Linked DNA regions of Homo sapiens: region 1 is linked to region 2. The links are contacts of gene promoters, found by promoter capture Hi-C in blood cells and fetal thymus (Javierre and others, 2016). All regions are on one chromosome and are shown on one strand. The core of a region is centred on a gene start or on the middle of the fragment in contact, and the rest is flanking DNA. Distances in the headings are between cores, read along the strand shown. Region 1 overlaps PIP5K1B (phosphatidylinositol-4-phosphate 5-kinase type 1 beta). Region 2 holds the start of TMEM252 (transmembrane protein 252).

Region 1 (4,870 bases), core at 1,340-3,839, 220 kb after region 2:
ACAAAGCCTCAAAATTCCATACCAATTCGAATATATTTCAGACCATTGCTATAAAATTGCTGCAAAGTATTATGGTAGAGAAGGCAATGATCATTAAGATATGGTAGTCTGCTGGAGTTCTTGTCTCTCCTTTGGGGGAAGAAATACTCACATGCTTTAGAGATTACAGAAATAATTTATTTCTTCTCTGAGGTGAAATTTCCTATATTCATTTCTTATTGCTGCTGTAACAAATTTATACAGAATTAGTGGCTTAAAACAATGCAAATGTATTATCTCATAGTTCTGGAAGTGAGAAGGCCAAAATTGGTCTCACTGGACTAAAATTAAGATGTCTACAAGGCTGCCTTCCTTTTGGAGGCTCTGGGGAAGAATTCCTCTTCTTGCCTTTTCCAGATTCTAGAGTTAGGCTGCATTCCTTGGCTTATGGCCTCCTTCCGTCTTCAAAGCTGCAGTAGCTGGTTAAGTCTTTCTCACATCATACCATTTGTACACTGACTCTTGTGCCTCCCTCTTAAAAGAACCCTTGTGACTACACTGTGCTCACTGCATAATCCAGGATAATCTTATTTTAAGGTCAGCTGATTAGCAATCTTAACTTCACCTGCAGCCTTAATTCCCCTTGCCGTGTGATAGACTATAGTCACAGTTTCCAGGGGTAAGGATGTGGACATCTTTTGGCAGCCATTATTCTGCCTATCGCATTGCCATCTTTCTGAGTTTTTAAAGTTTTAACCAATAATTGCAGAGCTAGTAATTTATTTTCCTCTGTTCCCTTTTCGCACTCTGAATTAGTTAATGGATGGCAGGAATCAACTGAAAAAATTAGGGCTAAGTAATGTCCTGGATTAACTGAAGAGATTCTCTTCAGGGAAAGCTGTCACAATCTCCAGCTATTTCTTAAAGCTGGTTATGTGTAGAAGGTTCTTTTACCTAAGATCATGTTCCTATCCACAAAAAGACAGAAACTATGTCCTTTTAAAAGAAATAAAATGCATTATCTAAGCTTAATTTTTTTTATTTCTAATCAAAAATATCATAAATGTTTGCCAAAGTTCATTGTGCAATTTTTTCTCCCTGCTGAGCAGGTGGCTGAAAGTCGTGGAATGTTGTTTTTCTGAATACAGATTCATAATGCCCATAGTGAACATGCTCATTAAAATAGAAAAATTAGACTGTATTAATTTGCATTTCAGTCCACTCTTGGGTAGATTTGTTATGTGTAGTTCTCACTATAATTATCTGCGTCTTTGGAAATGCCACATCTATTTGCAGATTAATTATGCCATTATCAAAGGCTTAGAAGGAAATCTTCAAAATTCATTGTTAACATTTAAAGAAAATGCACAGGAAGCTGATATAGAAGAGATAAACCAGAGATTTTTCTGAGTGTACTTATAGTGGGCAACAGAACTAACACTTATCTTTAGGTTAATGGTATTATTTAGACTTGCACTTATGAAGTGTTGATTTAGAGGATAATACATTGGTTAAGAGGGCTCAGTGGTTAAGTTCCATTTCACATTTATTGTGATCTCTGTTTCAGCCACTTAGTCACTTAGAAACGTTTATGAGTGTATGGGATGTGCCACTTCCTTTAGAAGACAATGGGGATACTATCCTTAGAGCTCCCATACTGTACAACTCCACGTGTTAACATTTTCCTCACTCTGTAGTCTATATGAGTGGTACCCTCTGGAGTAGCGCAGTTATCGAATATGAGGCTTAATGCAAGGATCCTGGCATTCTCTATGACAGAGGCTGTGCACAGTGGGGAACAGATTCACAAACAGACTCATGTTATGTGTGAATGGGTACATACGGTAATAAGAGCACAGAAGAAGGGAGCATCTGACTTTTCTTAGGATGGACCGGGATATCTGGGTTTTTCAGAGGAAGCTTTGCTCAAACAGAGTCTTGAAGGATCAATAGGAAATGGTGAGACAAGAAAAAGTTGGATGATTTTCTGGGCCAAGCCAGCAGCCTGTGCAGAGGAAAAGAGGTATGCAAAAGCATGCTACATTTACAAGACTTGCAGATATTTGAGTATGACTTAAGTGTGAGATTCATGTGGGCATGTGAATGAGGCAAAGCGTTTAACCTTCCTGTGCTTTACTTCCCCATTTAGTAAAACCAATAAAACAACACTACCTACCTTGTGGGGTTTTGTGAGTTTTAAATGAGATATCATCAGTAAAATGCTTAGGTTAGGCTTGATATATAAAAAAGCACTCAACGAATGTCAGCTGCCTTTGAGACGATGATGATGATCACAATGATATTACATGAGGTTGAAAAATTAGGCAAAAGCTACAGATTCTGTGCTAAGGAGTTTTGACATAATACTGTTGGCTGGGGAAATTGTGAAGGATGTTAAAAAAAAATACAATTCACAGCTCTATAGATTTATAAACTCCGTGTCATCATTTAGCAAGGCTGATTAGACCCCATGAATTGATGCATACTACTTGAAATCATTTAGAGAGACTGATGAAGAAAAATGCCATTTTATCAATTTACACTCAAAATAGAAACCACTCAGCATGCTGTGATAATTATGGCAATGAGGTGGTGTATTTCCTTCCTATGAATTGGTAAATCTCCTTGAGCTCCTATGTGAACATCACATGGTTTCTTAAGTGAGGATGAGGAGAGTCAGAGTAAATGTAGATGAGTGCTTTGAAAGGCTGGTGGATTAGCCTTGCTCACTTACTACATGTCTGGCAGGGAGATGAGAAACAGGACCTGGTTGGTACCTTCTCTGGAAATGCTGGTTACACTCTGATCTTCTCCTCCCTCTCCTTTTACAGATATCCCTTTTTTGGACACCCCTCTACTATAACTTCTTTTTTTTTTTTTTTTTTTTTTTTTTGGAATCATCACCTTTGTTTCAGCATGCTTTCAGGAGATGTCAATGGTTTTCCAGTTCATCTTGATTTTTTTAAAGGTGGCTGCTCTTTGGTGATATTTTGGGGTTTACTTTTATCTCAACAATAAGTGGTCTCCATAGTGTTCATCTATTCATTGCATTCAGCACCTAAACAGTGCGTTATTTTTGGGAATAGTCAGTTCAACCCATCCACTGTGGGAGAATTCACAGTACTATTGATTACATAGGATGGCATTTTCACTTCTAAATGTCATCTTATTTTCCTAACTTGTTGTTTTAATCATCTCTAACATTAGATTTTGAGATCCATTCTGTTTGAGGACCTGTAGTTCAATGAATGAGTTGGGAGTATAAAATTTGTCTCATGAAGTTGCTATATTTGTATAATAATAAGCTTAACTCATCAAGTTACTACTGTAGGCCTTTAGAATTTGGGTATCTTTCTAGTGAATGCTTTAGGGATATAAACATTTATTTTACTGGATTTTCATACTACTGTTTAATGCTATAATGTTACCTTATACATTCTACCAAGCATTGTAAGCTCAGACAAATTAGGCAATAATTTGTCAAAACAAAAAGTAATAATGCTAGCAAAGACAAAGAATTTATGCTAGTTACAGGTGATAAACTAAAGCTTTCCTCGTCCTCACCTTCATTCTGTGGTCTCTTAACCATAAACATCAATGTAGCAAAGAAAAATTGATTTTGTAATTGATTTTGAAATTGTAATTACCTTGATTTCCTTAGTGATGGTTATTTAAAATACTGAAGCATTTTAAGCTAAATAAAACTAATTTTAAAATAAAACTAATTTTTATTTTAAAAAAAAGTGGAGAAGGCCCATGTAAATTCCCTGCCTTTTAGAACATGCATTCTGAATATTGTTTTAAAGCATTTCAACAAAAATGCTTTGATGGAATGCTACAGTCACTGCTCATTATCTTGAATTCACTTGCAGGTCATTTGTTCTTAACTGTTTTTTTAAAAAAGTGAGTGTTTACATGTTTTTACTCCAAAGGAAATCAGTTACAATTGTTCATAATGGGTGCTTATTTAAAAACGAAAGCTCTGAGAAAAACTGTGCTTCTAATTTTTAATATTTCAAACATTATAGATGTTGGCATTGTGATGAAACAAAACTTGCCACTAGTAACATTTTAATGGTCTTTTCCATGGAGCAGTTGGAGATGAAACTGTGTCATAAAATATTTATTAAAATGCTTATACTTTACTGAAAATTTGAGGGTGTACCTGTGCTGTACTGAATTCTGTGTTCTAGCAAATATTTCATAATGATGCCTAGTACAAATTTTTATTAATGCAACATGGAGAAAATGGTCGTTCTCTTGTCTGAGTTGGATTAAAGCAAAGTTCCAAGCAGAAGTGCCAGAGCTATTTTTAAATGTACAAGGCATGCATTTTTTTCTTTTAACATAAATTCTCCATCAAAATAGGACCTAAGATTTTAAGAAACAAATATAATTTATTATGGCTATTTTGTGTTTAGAGAGATACTAATAGATTAGAGAAAGTGATTTGCCATTTATTGAGAAGGGCCAAAAAGCACATTAAAATATCCAATTTGTTAGTAACTTTTGAAAATGCAAACTTAAAAAAGTGCCACTTTTTGTTATCTAAGTCTAAGGCTAAGAAGAATGATCATACCAAGGTTGAAGTAGAGGTGGAGAACAAGCACTGTCAGATCTGTTGGGAATGACAATTGATGTAGACTTTCTCAAGGGTGATGTGTTTACAAGAAGCCTTGCTATACATATCCTCTGATCTAGCAGTTCCACTGCTGGAAATTTAACCTTAGGAAGTAATTGGACAAGGGGCCAAAAAATAAGACAATGATATTCATGATAGCATTGTTTCTAATCTCAAATATTGGAAACACCTTAAATTTCCATTAGTAGATAATCAAATTATGGCTCTTTTATCCACTGAGTACCTTGTAGCTATATAGAATGATATTGT
Region 2 (5,123 bases), core at 1,215-3,714:
GTCTACTATAAGGCATAAATCTCAGCCTTCGCTCAGAATAGCCAAGGCTGAGTCACGGGGCACATGTGTAAAGGCATTTTACACAGAAAGGTGAGATGTTCCCTGGAGTGATGTGAAAGGTTCCAGGATGACTGCTGCCTGCCCCAAATCCCAGCTACCTCTCCCAACCCCACCCTCCTTCAACTGCCATCCATATTCCCAGTCCCCTGAATTCCATCATCGGAGACCCATTTGCTTTGATATCTCAACCTGGGTATCCATTTTGAGTGCAAATGCTTTGGAGAAATGTGACTTCCCAGGCTGACTTGCCAGCCATTCTGCGTGGGATAAGCATCTTATTACATGCAGCGAGAAGAGGCAGTAAAATGGGGGTGTTACGATGTCCATAATTTACTTTCAAACATTTCAGTATACTGTAATATTATGCAGTGTTAGTCAATTTAAGCTATATCCTAAAGGCAATCAGTTACATTTATCAGAAATTCACACTCTAGAGGTAGTCCTCTAACATTTATACAAAAAGAAATCATCACTCTAGAGGCATCTTCTACAATCACTTCATTTCTCTTAATTTTTAATCAAACCCAGAAACTCTGCTGGTTAGTATAACATTGGAAATAAGTTTTGGTTTTCATAATTATTATCTTATTAATTAGCATAAAGGATGCCAAAAGTGGATGCTCATGGGTAAGATTACTTATATTCAAGATACATGGAGTAGCTAAAATATTTTAGATACTTTCTACTCTTGCACGAAGAGGGCAAAATAATTATAGTCTTGTAGCCTGTATCTTGAGAATGATGCCTAGGGTGTTATCCCTAAATGGTCCTGTGGCTAGCCAAGAATTAGGAGGTTTCTTGTTGCCTGATACTGACTATAAGATTAACTGAATCTTTTTTTTCTTGTGGTAAAATATATATGACATAAAATTTACTGTTTTTAAGTGTATAGCTCAGTGGCACTAAATACACTCATATTGCTCTACAACCATCACCTTAAAACTCTCTACTCATTAAACAATAGGTCCCCAGTCTCTCCTTCCACCAGCCCCTGGGACCACTGTTCTACTTTCTGTGTCTGTGAATTTGACTACGCTAAGTACTCATGTAAGTGGAATTATACAATATTTGCCCTTTGTAACTGACTTGTTTCACTTAGCATAATGTTTTCAACTTCATCCAAGTGGTGGCATGTGCCAGGATTTCCTTCCTTTTTAAGGCTAATATTCCATTGCATGTATATACCACATTTTGTTTATCTACTCACCTGTTGATGGACATTTGGGCTATTATGAATAAATGTTGCTACAAGCATTGGTGTACAAACATCCATTTGAATCCCTGCTTTCAGTTCCTTTGTGTATAAACTCAGAATGTAGAATTGCCAGATCAAACAGTAATTCAATATTTAATGTATAGAGGAGTCTCCACACTGTTTTCCACAGTGGTTGCACCATTTTAACATTCCCACCAGCAATGCACAGCGTTCCAATTTATTGACATCCTCACCAACACTAGCTGTTTGGTTTTGTTTTTTGATGATAACTATCCTAATGTATGAGATGGCGAGAAAGAATGAATCTTGCCTCTAGAATATTATCACCTTCCCCTGAAGGAATGTTTTATGCAAGGTGAGATCACAACACCTAAAAGGACAGTAAACTGGGACTTTTCTGAGCTCACAGAGATTCCAGGACTCATTTTATGCCTGCTTCTTCATTTGTTGTGTGGCAGAATTTGGTCTGGGACTTGCTTTCCTTAGAACCTCATAGCCAGGTTATGGGAAGTAACTAACCATCACCTGCCACTAATTAATGACAGCTGCCATGATATAACAAAAGAGCCTGGGTTTCTAAATTGGCTTAGGTGGGTTTTCACTGGGGGTGGTGGTAGGGTTTCTCTGAGATGAGTTGCCCCTGCGTCATGGTTTTCCCCAAAGATGGCGCCACTCTTCCTAATAACAACCCCAGAGTAATTCCCTGACAATAAAGCTTTGGTTCTAGACAGACAGCCCATGGGACATGTAAGTCGCTCCATAGTAGGATCAGAAATTACTCAGATCTTACACAACTCAGCCCATCTCAGCCCTTCTTGGTCCCTCTGCCTGTCAGCACGTACCTGTCTACTGTGGCCACGGGCAGGGCCCCATGAGCAAGGTGTTGTCGGAGCATGTGCCTCAACACTCCTTTGCTTTCAGTCACCTGGCGATAGTTGCTCCAGAAAATTCCACTCAGAAGGATCACAAACCCCAGAGGCAGAAGCAAATAGGCCGCAATCAGGCTCCCCTGACAGTCGAATATGGAGCCCCAGGAAATGAAGAAGGCCCCCAGGCAGACCATCAGGAAACCCATCAGGAGGGCAAGAGCACAGAGAATGAGGCCAGTTCTGTTCTGCATCCTTGCACCTTAGGAACCCAGCACCCTGACCCTGCTGCTCCTCTGCTTCCCTGCTTGCTCCAAGAGAATGAGCTCATTAGCCAGCTTGCAGCTTTATATGCTCTGGGACCCACTGGCCTTTGGACAACTAAATGAAACAGGCACTTAGAAGCTATTCATTAACCATTGAAAGTAAGTGTAATATCCTTGGAGAATTAGCCAAAAAACATAGCATTGTATACTGCAGGCAGGAGTGGCTTCGTGTAGCTGTTTTGTTCTTCAGAGTTGGGTGGGACACTCAGCTGTTCCCAGTTATTTGAACGTACAGCCCTCCTTTGATTAAAAGGCGCTGGTCTCTTAATCCCCATGGAGGGCAATTCCCCACTAAAAGCTGGAGAAGTTAGCACTCTTTAAAGAACGATCTTCTTTGAGGTTTGGTAAGAAATCCCTTCCTGATTCCTTCTCCCTTTTTCTGTACTAAAAAGGCATTTCTTCAAGGCTGTTAACATGTTTGTCTTGCCTCCCTCAATGAATCCCCACTTATTGCCCCCACACTATGATACTGGCATAATTCCAAGACAGAAGTTCAGAGTGTGAACTTCGTGGTTCCTGCTCTGTTGACAAGATCGAAAGAGCCTGAGTGGGAGGGAAAGGAGAGTGCTGGAGAAAAGGACTATAATAGACAGAGCCTCGGGAATTTGGGGGGATTTTGGGCCTGTAATTCCTGCAATCTTTCCCCCTTTCATAAAGTACATATGAAATAGAATTCGTTTTAGAGGATGCTGCTAAAAATGTTCCCTGTCCTCTCCTCCACACCTCTGCTCTATGTAGCATTGCCTCAAAAAATCTTTCCAGAACCAGCCTTCTGTTTCCTGGCTGGAATTTGTTTTCTTTAGCTTGACTGTCTTTGATTGTGGATAGCTTATTTCAGACGTGCTTTATGCCCTGGCTCTGCCCTTTTTTATTTGATAATGTGGCATGTCTCTGCCAAAAGTCTCCTTCCCATAGGAACCCTGGGTTGCTTTTACTCAGGATAGCTTATCTTCAGTTCCTCTTTGCTGCTGTTCCACTCCACTACTCCATTACCATTATTTTCCATTTACTTTCCCAATGAGAGCAGCAGTTTTTTGTGGCGTGCCCTAATAATCCCTCATATAACCTTTAGTCTCACACTCACCATCTCCTTAGCTCTACCTTCATGTTAGGGCTGGGAGACACGGATATTAGAGAGGTACACACTATGGATCAAAAACTATATAAGGCACTTCTCCATTCCAACCCTTAGCCTTTACCTTTCTTAGCTTCAATTTCGACCTTGAACTACCTTGATCTTCTAGTCTTGATATTGTCTTTGTAATCTTAAAACAGCTCTTATTCCCTCCTTCCCCAAACTGTGAGATGGAATATTTCTAAGATGATCCCTAAGGATCCCACCTCCTGATATTCATGTCCTTGTGTAAGTAATCCTCTCCCCTGAGTGTAGGCTGGACCTAGTGACTTCATTCTAATCAATAGAATATGGTAACGGTGATCGGAAGTTACTTCCGTGGAGGCTACACAAGATTGTGGTTTTCATCTTTCTAGCAGACTCTCTCTATTGTCCTCTTGGCTTACGCCCTTTGAAGAAGGAAGCTGCCATATTGGAGAGGCCCATGAGGCAAGGAATTGAGGGCAGGTTCTGGCCAACAGTCACTGAAGAACTGAGGCCCTTAGTCCGTCAGCCCATGAGGAACTGCATCCTGTCAATGACCACGTGAGCTTGCAATCAAATCCTCATCCCACTGAGCCTTGAGATGACTCTGCTCCCAAGCATCACCTTGACTCAGTGACCCTGAAGTAGAGGACCCAGGTAAGTCATACTCGGATTCCTGACCCACAGAAACTGTGAGATAAAACGTTTCAGCCAGGGTCCTGGATGCCACAAGATGGCAAGAGCCATAATCAATGAATGCATTATGATCAAATCATTTCATGTTTATGGATGTCACTATTTTAACAAATAAAAGAGGTCAAAAGTTTAAAAAAAGTATATTTTAAAAATATGCTAAGTTTTGTGGCCATTTTTTAGATAGCAGTAGATAACTAAAAAAATTCTCTTAGAACTTTGAAAATCAGAAGAGACAATCAATGTTAAGTATTTATCATAGTACCTGGCACAGAGAGTGCCCTGTGAAGGTTATCTATAATCACCATCACCAATATTGTTATTATCATTGCTGTTACAATTCCAAAAATCTGTGGAAGACCCAGGACCCCCAGCTGAAAGGTCTGCACTAGGAGTTGGGTCCCAGGAACAGGTAGATGGTAAAGCCCCAGGATAATGTTAAGAATCAGGTGATGGAGGAAGAGTACTCTCAATCGGAACTGCCCATCAGACAGTTGGGCTTCTCTGTTTTAGACAAAAATGGAGGCAGAAATTAGACTGGGGATTATGACAGGTCAGGCCTCATTCTTGTGATCACATCAACACATGAGTAAATAAGTTTCTCTATACTTTTTCCTCCTCCATGCCAATAAAGTACACTAGAACCATTGCCTTATAGTTTGTCAGACAGTTCCTTCCCCTCCAGTGCCCTTTGAGGAGGCTCCTGTCATTCCACAGCAGTGTTGTTGTTGTGATGGTGGTGGTGGTATGTTTTTGGTGAGAAATTAGGTATGGAAGAGCAAAATCCAGGAAGTGGCAGGGGGATGGAAGGACTCAGTCCCTTTACATAAAATTTATGTGAAATTAAGAATAGTTCCTGGGCT

What was found. The method cuts DNA at HindIII sites, captures the fragments that hold promoters and counts their contacts. A CHiCAGO score of 5 or more calls a contact.
Region 1: a contact is called between a fragment that was not itself captured here and the fragment with the promoter of TMEM252 in region 2, in 2 of 17 cell types (naive B cells and neutrophils). The highest score is 6.1, in naive B cells.

Annotation. Positions count from the first base shown.
Region 1 is chr9:68,761,229-68,766,098 of GRCh38, forward strand. The region is part of intron 2 of PIP5K1B (phosphatidylinositol-4-phosphate 5-kinase type 1 beta); the gene reads left to right. Among named protein-coding and RNA genes, the nearest start is that of PABIR1, 16 kb to the right of the region's middle. The HindIII fragment of the contact is 1,385 bases long and covers 1,898-3,282 here.
Region 2 is chr9:68,538,419-68,543,541 of GRCh38, forward strand. It overlaps TMEM252 (transmembrane protein 252), which reads right to left and starts at 2,465. Exons shown (of 2, transcript NM_153237.2): 1 at 2,119-2,465. The coding sequence starts at 2,396. TMEM252-DT (TMEM252 divergent transcript) reads left to right here and starts at 2,607. Exons shown (of 5, transcript NR_187592.1): 1 at 2,607-2,812; 2 at 3,960-4,224. LINC01506 (long intergenic non-protein coding RNA 1506) reads right to left here. Exons shown (of 4, transcript NR_109769.1): 4 at 5,123. The HindIII fragment of the contact is 3,743 bases long and covers 1,990-5,123 here.